Regions from separate parts of the Homo sapiens genome. Here regions 2 and 3 are each linked to region 1. The links are contacts of gene promoters, found by promoter capture Hi-C in blood cells and fetal thymus (Javierre and others, 2016). All regions are on one chromosome and are shown on one strand. The core of a region is centred on a gene start or on the middle of the fragment in contact, and the rest is flanking DNA. Distances in the headings are between cores, read along the strand shown. Region 1 holds the start of C1GALT1C1 (C1GALT1 specific chaperone 1). Region 2 overlaps CUL4B (cullin 4B). Region 3 overlaps CUL4B (cullin 4B).

Evidence for each region. Contacts are between HindIII fragments. The CHiCAGO score rates a contact against its expected background, and 5 or more counts as called.
Region 2: a contact is called between a fragment that was not itself captured here and the fragment with the promoter of C1GALT1C1 in region 1, in 8 of 17 cell types (neutrophils, naive CD4 T cells, total B cells and 5 more). The highest score is 8.0, in neutrophils.
Region 3: a fragment that was not itself captured here is called in contact with the fragment with the promoter of C1GALT1C1 in region 1 in 1 of 17 cell types (neutrophils); the score reaches 5.3 in neutrophils.

Annotation. Positions count from the first base shown.
Region 1 is chrX:120,628,672-120,631,371 of GRCh38, forward strand. C1GALT1C1 (C1GALT1 specific chaperone 1) reads right to left here and starts at 1,383. Exons shown (of 2, transcript NM_001011551.3): 1 at 1,246-1,383. RefSeq lists an enhancer at 764-1,691 and a silencer at 1,351-1,620. The HindIII fragment of the contact is 14,165 bases long and covers 1-2,700 here.
Region 2 is chrX:120,545,688-120,548,387 of GRCh38, forward strand. It overlaps CUL4B (cullin 4B), which reads right to left. Exons shown (of 20, transcript NM_001079872.2): 3 at 1,449-1,552; 4 at 860-929. Among named protein-coding and RNA genes, the nearest start is that of CUL4B, 14 kb to the right of the region's middle. The HindIII fragment of the contact is 4,280 bases long and covers 1-2,700 here.
Region 3 is chrX:120,525,748-120,528,475 of GRCh38, forward strand. CUL4B (cullin 4B) reads right to left here. Exons shown (of 20, transcript NM_001079872.2): 20 at 1-1,109. The coding sequence ends at 1,014. Among named protein-coding and RNA genes, the nearest start is that of CUL4B, 34 kb to the right of the region's middle. The HindIII fragment of the contact is 3,448 bases long and covers 1-2,728 here.

The DNA of each region.
Region 1 (2,700 bases), core at 133-2,632:
GTGGGATCTGTTGACCATAACTGATATTTTGCACCCAACAGCACCATATTGCTACAAGGAAACCACTCCTGTGGTTTTCTGCTAGAGGAAATGGAATTTTGACTTCTACCAGAAAGACAAGGTGTGGAATAGCTTGGCAGATGTAATTTCTGAGCGGTGGGTGGGGCAAGAGGCAGGAAGACTTTCCTGTGTCACTCACAGAACTTGGTCAATAAACACAGTTCCAAGAAGAGAAGTGACAGAAAACAAGCTCGGCATAATATTAGAATTGTCGGCTGTGTGCGGTGGCTCACGCCTGTAATCCCAGCACTTTGGGAGGCCGAGGCAGGTGGATCACCTGAGGTAGGGAGTTCAAGACCAGCCTGGCCAACATGGTGAGACCCTGTCTCGACTAAAAATACAAAAATTAGCCGGGCATGGTGGCATATGACTGTAATCCCAGCTACTCAGGAGGCTGAGGCAGGAGAATTGCTTGAACCCGGGAGGCGGAGGTTGCAGGCAGTGAGCCAAGATCGCACCACAGCACTCCGGCCTGGGCAACAAGAGCGAGACTCTGTTTCAAAAAAAAAAAAGAAAGAAAGAAAGAAAAAAGAAAAAGAATTGTCAGGTGCACTCTAAGATTAATTTATATAGGATTTTTGTATTTCATGTCACGCAGTTTTCATTATTTCTGGCCAATACATAATTCACATGTTTCTTTGCTCAATTATGGCATATGTGTCAGAATTCTTCCTGATGGTGATCCTACTCCTGGCTGCAAAAATAGTGATCAAAACTCAGTAAGTCTACACATTTTAAATAAAATAATTTGCAAAAATTATTCTAAGGAGATTTTTTCCCCATCACAGAGGCAAAAAATATAACACTAGGGATGCATATGATAGGATACTTTGTGCAGAAGGAAACAAAACTGCACACGAGCACAAATGAAACAGAAACTACCCCAATGGTTTTTAGATGAACCTTTTTGGGTGAAGGTAGTTGGGGTGAAGTACGGAAAACGAAGACGAAATAGGGAAGAGAAGTGAGAGGGAGGACATGGTAACCTCGATATCCCTCTGAGGGACCAAGAGAGCGCCCCCAGGAAGAAGACTCTCGGTCTCCTGTGCTGACAATCCTCCCGCTGCACCTGCCCAAGCATCCCGCGTGGAGCATGCTGGGAGAGGGCTGGGGCCCAGGCCTCCCCCAAGAGAGGGAGGGGAGTCAGGGTGCGCTTGGGGTGGGGGTCGAGGCCCCGCCACTCACCCGCGTCTAGAACGGCTTGGGGACAGGAAAGCGCAGCCGCGCACGGGTTTCCTCTCACGTTGGCGCACCACTCCGTTACGCTCCTGACCAGGCTGTTCTAGCTGCAGGCGGTGTTCTCTCGTTGGTCTCGCTAAAGGTGGGGAGCGCCAGGAAACGAGCGCCGCGAAGGCGGGGGTAGTGGGGCGGGGTAAAGGAGCCGGCGGCTGGGCGGAGCCGTCCGTTTGCCCGCCCGCGCAGGCGTCGGAAGGGCCGGCGCGCCCGCTGCGCGCACACTGCGTGCCCTTTCTCCCCGCCCCCTGCCGAGTTCAGAGACTTGCTATAGGCCTGCGTGACCCGGACGCTCTCCTTTACCCAACGGGCGTCCAGAGAAGAGGCCGTGCGTACGACTCGCTGACACCTCCCATTTCACCTTCCTGGCATGGAAATTGCGAGAGCGAGAGATTCTTGCTCCCGGTGTCGCTTTTTATCAGACCTCTTGATGGTTTCTCTGATGTACCCCTGCGTCCTTGAACCCTCATATTGCCCACCCCCCCAGTACTCCTGGGCTGAGACCAAAACGCAAGCCACTGAAATAGTCACGTAATTATGACACCAACGGTTTCCTATTATTACTGGAATGAGATCTGAAGCCCCACTGCCTGGAATCCAATCCTGTCTTCACCACACCTTTTGATATCCCAGGAAAGTTATTTCACCTCGCTGTGCCTCAGTTCCCTCATTTGTAAAGTACAGAAAATGTCACAGTAGTGCCTATTTCATAGAAAATTAGATGAGATAGTGCATATGACTCCCTTAGCAAAATTTCAAGCCTAGAGTAAGCATTTACTAAAAAGTACTGGCTGTTATTATTCACCCCAGTATTTCTAGTACTTAACCACAGTGCCAGCACGCAGTGGACAGTAAATATTAGTGGAATTAATGAATATTAGAACTACAGCTGAGGAACCAGGCCTAAAAAGGATAAGGAAATTTCAAAAGTCCACACAGCAAGTTAATGGCAGAGGTGGGACTGGAATCCAGGTCTCTTTTTTTTTTTTTTTTGAGACGGAGTTTCACTCTTGTTGCCCAGGCTGGAGTGCAATGGCACGATCTCGGCTCACTGCAACCTCTGCCTCCCGGGTTCAAGCGATTCTTCTACCTCAGCCTCCCTAGCAGCTGGGATTACAGACGCCCGCCACCACGCCCGGCTAATTTTTGTATTATTAGTAGAGACGGGGTTGGCCAGGCTGGTCTTGAATTCCTGACCTCAGGTGATCCACCCGCCTCGGCCTCCCAAAGTGCTGGGATTACAGGCTTGAGCCACTGCGCACGGCCCCCAGGTCTTCTAATTAAGAGTGCAGAGCTCTCTTTCCACGAAATATTTGATGTGTCTCTTTTTTTTTTTTTTTTTTTTGAGACCGAGTTTCGTTCTTTTTGCCCAGGCTGGAGTGCAATGGCGGGATCTCGGTTCACTGC
Region 2 (2,700 bases), core at 190-2,689, 83 kb before region 1:
ACTCAACAGTCAATCCTTTTTGTGTTTTCTAGAAAAAAGACACTTAAAATGGCCCTCTGATTTACTGCTTGAGAAGTAACTGAAAAATCAAGGGGACGCTCATATAATTCTTCCTGCGCCACAGTGCTAGGGAATGAAGCTGCCTTACATTGCACATGTGAGGGTTTTTATTGGCAGGGGGTGGGGGTGGGGAGGGGTGATGGATTTTAAGATTTTAATCTGTAGAATATAAGGTATAAACCAGATTAAGAAAAATGGAAAAGGTTGTTATCTGAATAAACTAAAACACAGGACCATCAGGCACCTTCACAGGTAATCAAATAGTGGACAGGATAATCATCAAGAGAGAAAAAAAAATAAGAGTGACAGACGAAATGTAGCTTTTTAATGAATGAGATAAATACATTTTTGGTAAGTGTGACAAAAATAAAAATGAACCTAAGGTGCAAGACATTCTGAAATGCAGGTTTACCTGTAACTTGTGGTTTTAAAATAGAAAACTCAACCAAAACTAGTTTCCAATTCAGAAAAGGAACTTGGGAGGAAGAGTGGGAGGGGGGCGAGGGATAAAAGACTACAATGGTGCAATGTATACTGCTCTGGTGAAGGGTGCACCAAAATCTTACAAATCACCACTAAGGAACTTACTCATGTAACCAAATGTCACCTGTACCCCAATAACTTACGGGAAAATAAAAAATAAATAAATTTTTAAAAAAAGAAAAAAAAAGAAAAGGAATAGATATTGAAGCAATCTCCCTATTGCTAAGTTTTAAAAACTAACATTCCTGTATTTGAAGAAATGTTTTTAACTATTAATACAATGTTTAGCCGAAATACAATACTTTTTCCAGCTTACCATTTGTCTGCAATGGTTTTGCCAGCATCTATCAATCTTCTTTAAAAAAAGAACGCTATCCAATGAATCCCTGAAACATATGTTAAGGATATTTTAAAGCGTTTGGTACAAGTCATATGTGCCATGTGACAGAGAGCATATTAGTCTTAAACATGAATACCTTGCACACTAAGTGAAACTAAATGGCACTTGATTATGCACCAAAGTGCTATTTCCTAATTTGTAAAAGAAAAAAAAAACATAGTTTATACTAAAAAACACCTTTAAAAACAAGTCTTAGACATAACTGAACATCGTGTTTTCAGTTTACTATTTCCCTTAGGAGATTATTTTTCCTCAAGTGGAAATCTGATAGGGCAAAAAGGATAAAGACATAAGGACATCTTATTTACATGAATACCACACGTAGTCCTGGACACGAATTAAGGCTGAAAAGTCAAAATGTGTTTCTTTCTCGAGAAACACAAGGCACAAAAAATGACAAACCTACAAAATACAGGCATTCTACTTCAAGCTGGGTTAAACAGTGAGGGGTAGGGACAGAGAGGAAGACAAAACTATTCACGATTTTTTGTTTTAAAAAGGATATTCTCTGAATTGATGAATCTGTGCTTTGATGTGATCTTCGCAGATCTGTCTCAGCTGTTTGTACAAGTTTGCAGAAATCTTGTAAGAACAGAGATTTTCTACAGCCTGCAAGGTTAAAATACTTTCTTAAGGAGAGGATGAAGGATTTCTCAACTATTTACATCAGATTCTTATTAATTTGATATTTCTACCACATCAGCTTATTAAAAAGGGTTATTCATCCACTTAAGACACAAGGTAAAACAACAAAATATATCAATGTGGGTGGCAAACTTTCTCATAACCAATGCACTGTATCAAAAAAGAACAAATTACAGGTTTAGCATCTTTAATCTAAAAATCTGAAATCCAAAAAGCTCAAAAATCTGAAACTTTTTGAGTGCCAACATGCTGCTCAAAGAAAATCCTACTTGGGCTGGGTACAGTGGTTCATGCCTGTAATCCCAACATTTTGGGGGGCCAAGGTGAGAGGATTGCTTGATGCCAGGCTAGAACAGCCTAGGCAACTGTGATGGTTACTACTGAGTGTCAACTTGATTGGATTGAAGGATACAAAGTATTGATCCTGGGTGTGTCTGTGAGGGTGTTGCCAAAAGAGATTAACATTTGAGTCAGTGGGCTGGGGAAGGCAGATCCATCCTTAACCTGGTGGGCACAATCTAATCAGCTTCCAGTGAATATAAAGCAGGCCAAAAAAAGTGAAAAGGAGAGAAGGGCCTAGCCTCCCAGCCTACATCTTTCTCCCATGCTGGATGCTTCCTGCCCTCGAACATCAGACTCCAAGTTCTTCAGTTTTGGGAATCAACCTGGCTCTCCTTACTCCTCAGCTTGCAGACAGCCTATTGTGGGACCTTGTGATCGTGTAACTTAACACTTAATAAACTCCCCTTTATATATATCTCCTACTAGTTCTGTAGTTCTGTCCCTCTAAGAAAACCCTGACTAATACAGAAACAAAGCAAGACCCCATCTCTACAAAAAATTTAAAAATTAGCTGGGCCCAGTGGTGTGTACCTGTAGTTCCAGCTATTTAGGAGGCTGAGGCAGGAGGATCACTTGAGCCCAAGAGTTCAAGGTTGAAGTGAACCATGACTACGCCACTGCACTCTAGCCTGGGGACAAAGTGAGACCTTGTCTCAAAAATAAAAAAGCTGTCTTGTTTAAAATGTTAATCATTTTCACAAGCAGAGCTTCATTTTGGGTTTAAAAAAGAATTTCACCTGTTGTTTATGTATCAGATGGGTTGGGCAGTC
Region 3 (2,728 bases), core at 125-2,624, 100 kb before region 1:
AAAAAAAACTTTGGTAGAGAAAATAGGAATGCTAAATCCTAGGAAGCCTGTAACAATCTACAATTGGTCCAAGTTGAAGACAAAACTGTCCAAACAACATTTAAAGTCTAAAGTATGTTGAAAACTAGTTGCAAAGTTTTTGCTCCTGTAACAATTTACAAAACACGTTCATTTTGGTCTCTTTTGCAATTTTCTTATTGTATTCATTTTTAATATAAAGAGTTGGATTTTTCTCTTCTATGATGTTCCTCTAGTACAACTGATCATTAATTTTCTACTTTAGCTATTTTTATAAGTACTTGTTAATCAGCACAGTTAACTTGGGGCTAAGCCATATACACACATCCCATACTCATAAATGAAAATTTTTAGGATGTGAATATACAAGATATTATGTAAGCAACTGTCCCCCTACTTGAAAACTTGTTTCCAAATAATTTTTTTTAAAAAACATCCCTTTCAGTGTAACAGAACATCACCTAGTAAAATATCAATAGCTATGACAATTCATTTCTCTTTTCAAGGGAAATCACAAAACGGGTGAACAACCAAGTCAAGGGTGGTTTTTCTATTTGATAAATACATCCAGAACTCTGTACAGTAAATAAAGTTTGCATGCAGTTTAAGTATCTTTAAATGACATTTTAAGCAAATAAACCTTTTGCTTCATAATTAATGGTGTGTAAGAACCCTCCCCCCTTTTTAATAGCCACAGGGATCTCTTTCCCAGTTCCAAAGAGGAATTCATGAAGACCAGGTACGTTCTTAAGTGTTTTCTGCACATCATACTAAATAACATGCAAAGAGTTCAACAACATTCTTCTTAAAGGTAAGTATTACTCTTTAAAATGGGCATGTTAACCACTGAGAAAAAGTCCACTCAACTATTTCCATTAATTACACTGCTTCATTTGGTCATCGGTAGTAAAAAAGGAGTCAAATAATATTGAATCAACAGGTTAGTTTATCCACTGGCTACTGCATATGACACCAAATGCTGCAAGGCCAACATTCTATGCAATATAGTTGTACTGGTTTGGATTTTCTTTATCTCTTTCCATGTAGTCCCGGTCAATTAAAGATTCTATTCTCTTCTTAAGATCAGCAGGCTGTAAGAGAAGGCAAATTTTCAATGTAAAGTTCATTATCATTGGCTCAAGCCCATTTAGTTAATACCCCATTAAAAAGACAACAGTTTCGGCTCATGAATTTAATCTCCTTTTTTAAAATTTTTATTTATTTAAATCTCTTTTTTAGAGAAAAGTATCATGAAAATAAACCAGGTTAAAAAATGTTTTATACACGTTGAAGATTCTTTTTTTTTTTTTTTGAGACGGAGTCTCGCTCTGTCACCCAGGCTGGACTGCAGTGGCACCACTTTGGCTCACTGCAACCTCCACCTCCTGGGTTCAAGTGATTCTTCTGCCTCAGCTTCCCGAGTAGCTGGGACTAGACACAAGCCACCACGCCTGGCTAATTTTTGTATTTTTGGTAGAGATGGGGTGTCACCATATTGGCCAGGCTGGTCTTGAACTCCTGACCTCAGGTGATCCACCTGCCTCAGCCTCCCAAAGTGCTGGGATTACAGGGATGAGCCACCGTGCCCAGGTATGTTGAAGATTCTTTAACGCCAAAAGTGTTTTTGATTTTTGATTTTTTTTTGGAGCTTTTAATTTTTTTAATAGACAGGGTCTTGCTATGTCGCCCAGGCTGACCTTAAACTCTTGTTCTGGAGTAATCCCCCCAGCCTCAGCCTCCCAAAGTACTGGAATCCCAGTACTCACAGGTGTGAGCTACCATGCCTGGTCCTGACTTTTTCATTTTGGTATATTTGCATATACATAGTGAGATACCATGGAGATGGGACCCAAGTCTAAACACAAAATTCATCTATGTTTCATACATACCTTACATAGCCTGAAGATAATTTTATACCTTTTGTGCATGAAACAAAGTTTTGACTGCAACCTGTCAAATGAGGTAAAGTGTGGAATTTTCCACCTGTGGCATCATGTTGGCATTCAAAGTTTCCAATTTTAGAGCATTTCAGATTTTGGATTCTCATTAAAGGTGTTCAACCTGTACTATATACTATACATACATTAAACTGTCACATCCTTGTCATATTGTTACGGAATACTTTCTATTACTTTTCTATTTTAAAGAGGTCATGCCAGAAGCAGCTACCCTTCGCGTGGTTAAATACAAAAGACTACATTTATTGTAACTTCACATGAGCACTGTAAGGTAGTTTAAGGACACAGAATACTAGTTTTGTCAAGATAGTTCATGAAGCACACCTTTACTTTGGGCAAGAGTTAGTTGGCTTCATTTTTATAAATTAAGATTTAAAACGTACTGATGAAATCACTATTTAGACCGGGTGTGGTGGCTCATGCCTGTAATCCCAGCACTTTGGGAGGCTAAGATGGGTGGATCACCTGAGGTCAGAAGTTTGAGACCAGACTGGCTAACATGGCAAAACCCCATCTGTACTAAAAATACAAGAATTAGCCAGGTGTGGTGGTGGGCGCCTGTAGTCTCAGCTACCAGGGAGACTGAGGCAGGAGAATTGCTTGAACCCGGGAGGTGGAGGTTGTAGTGAAACGTGATCGCGCCACTGCACTCCAACCTGGGTGACAGAGCAAGAAGACTCCATCTCAAAAAAAAAAAAAATCACTATTTAAAAGAATACTGGACAGGTGCAGTGGCTCATGCCTGTAATCCC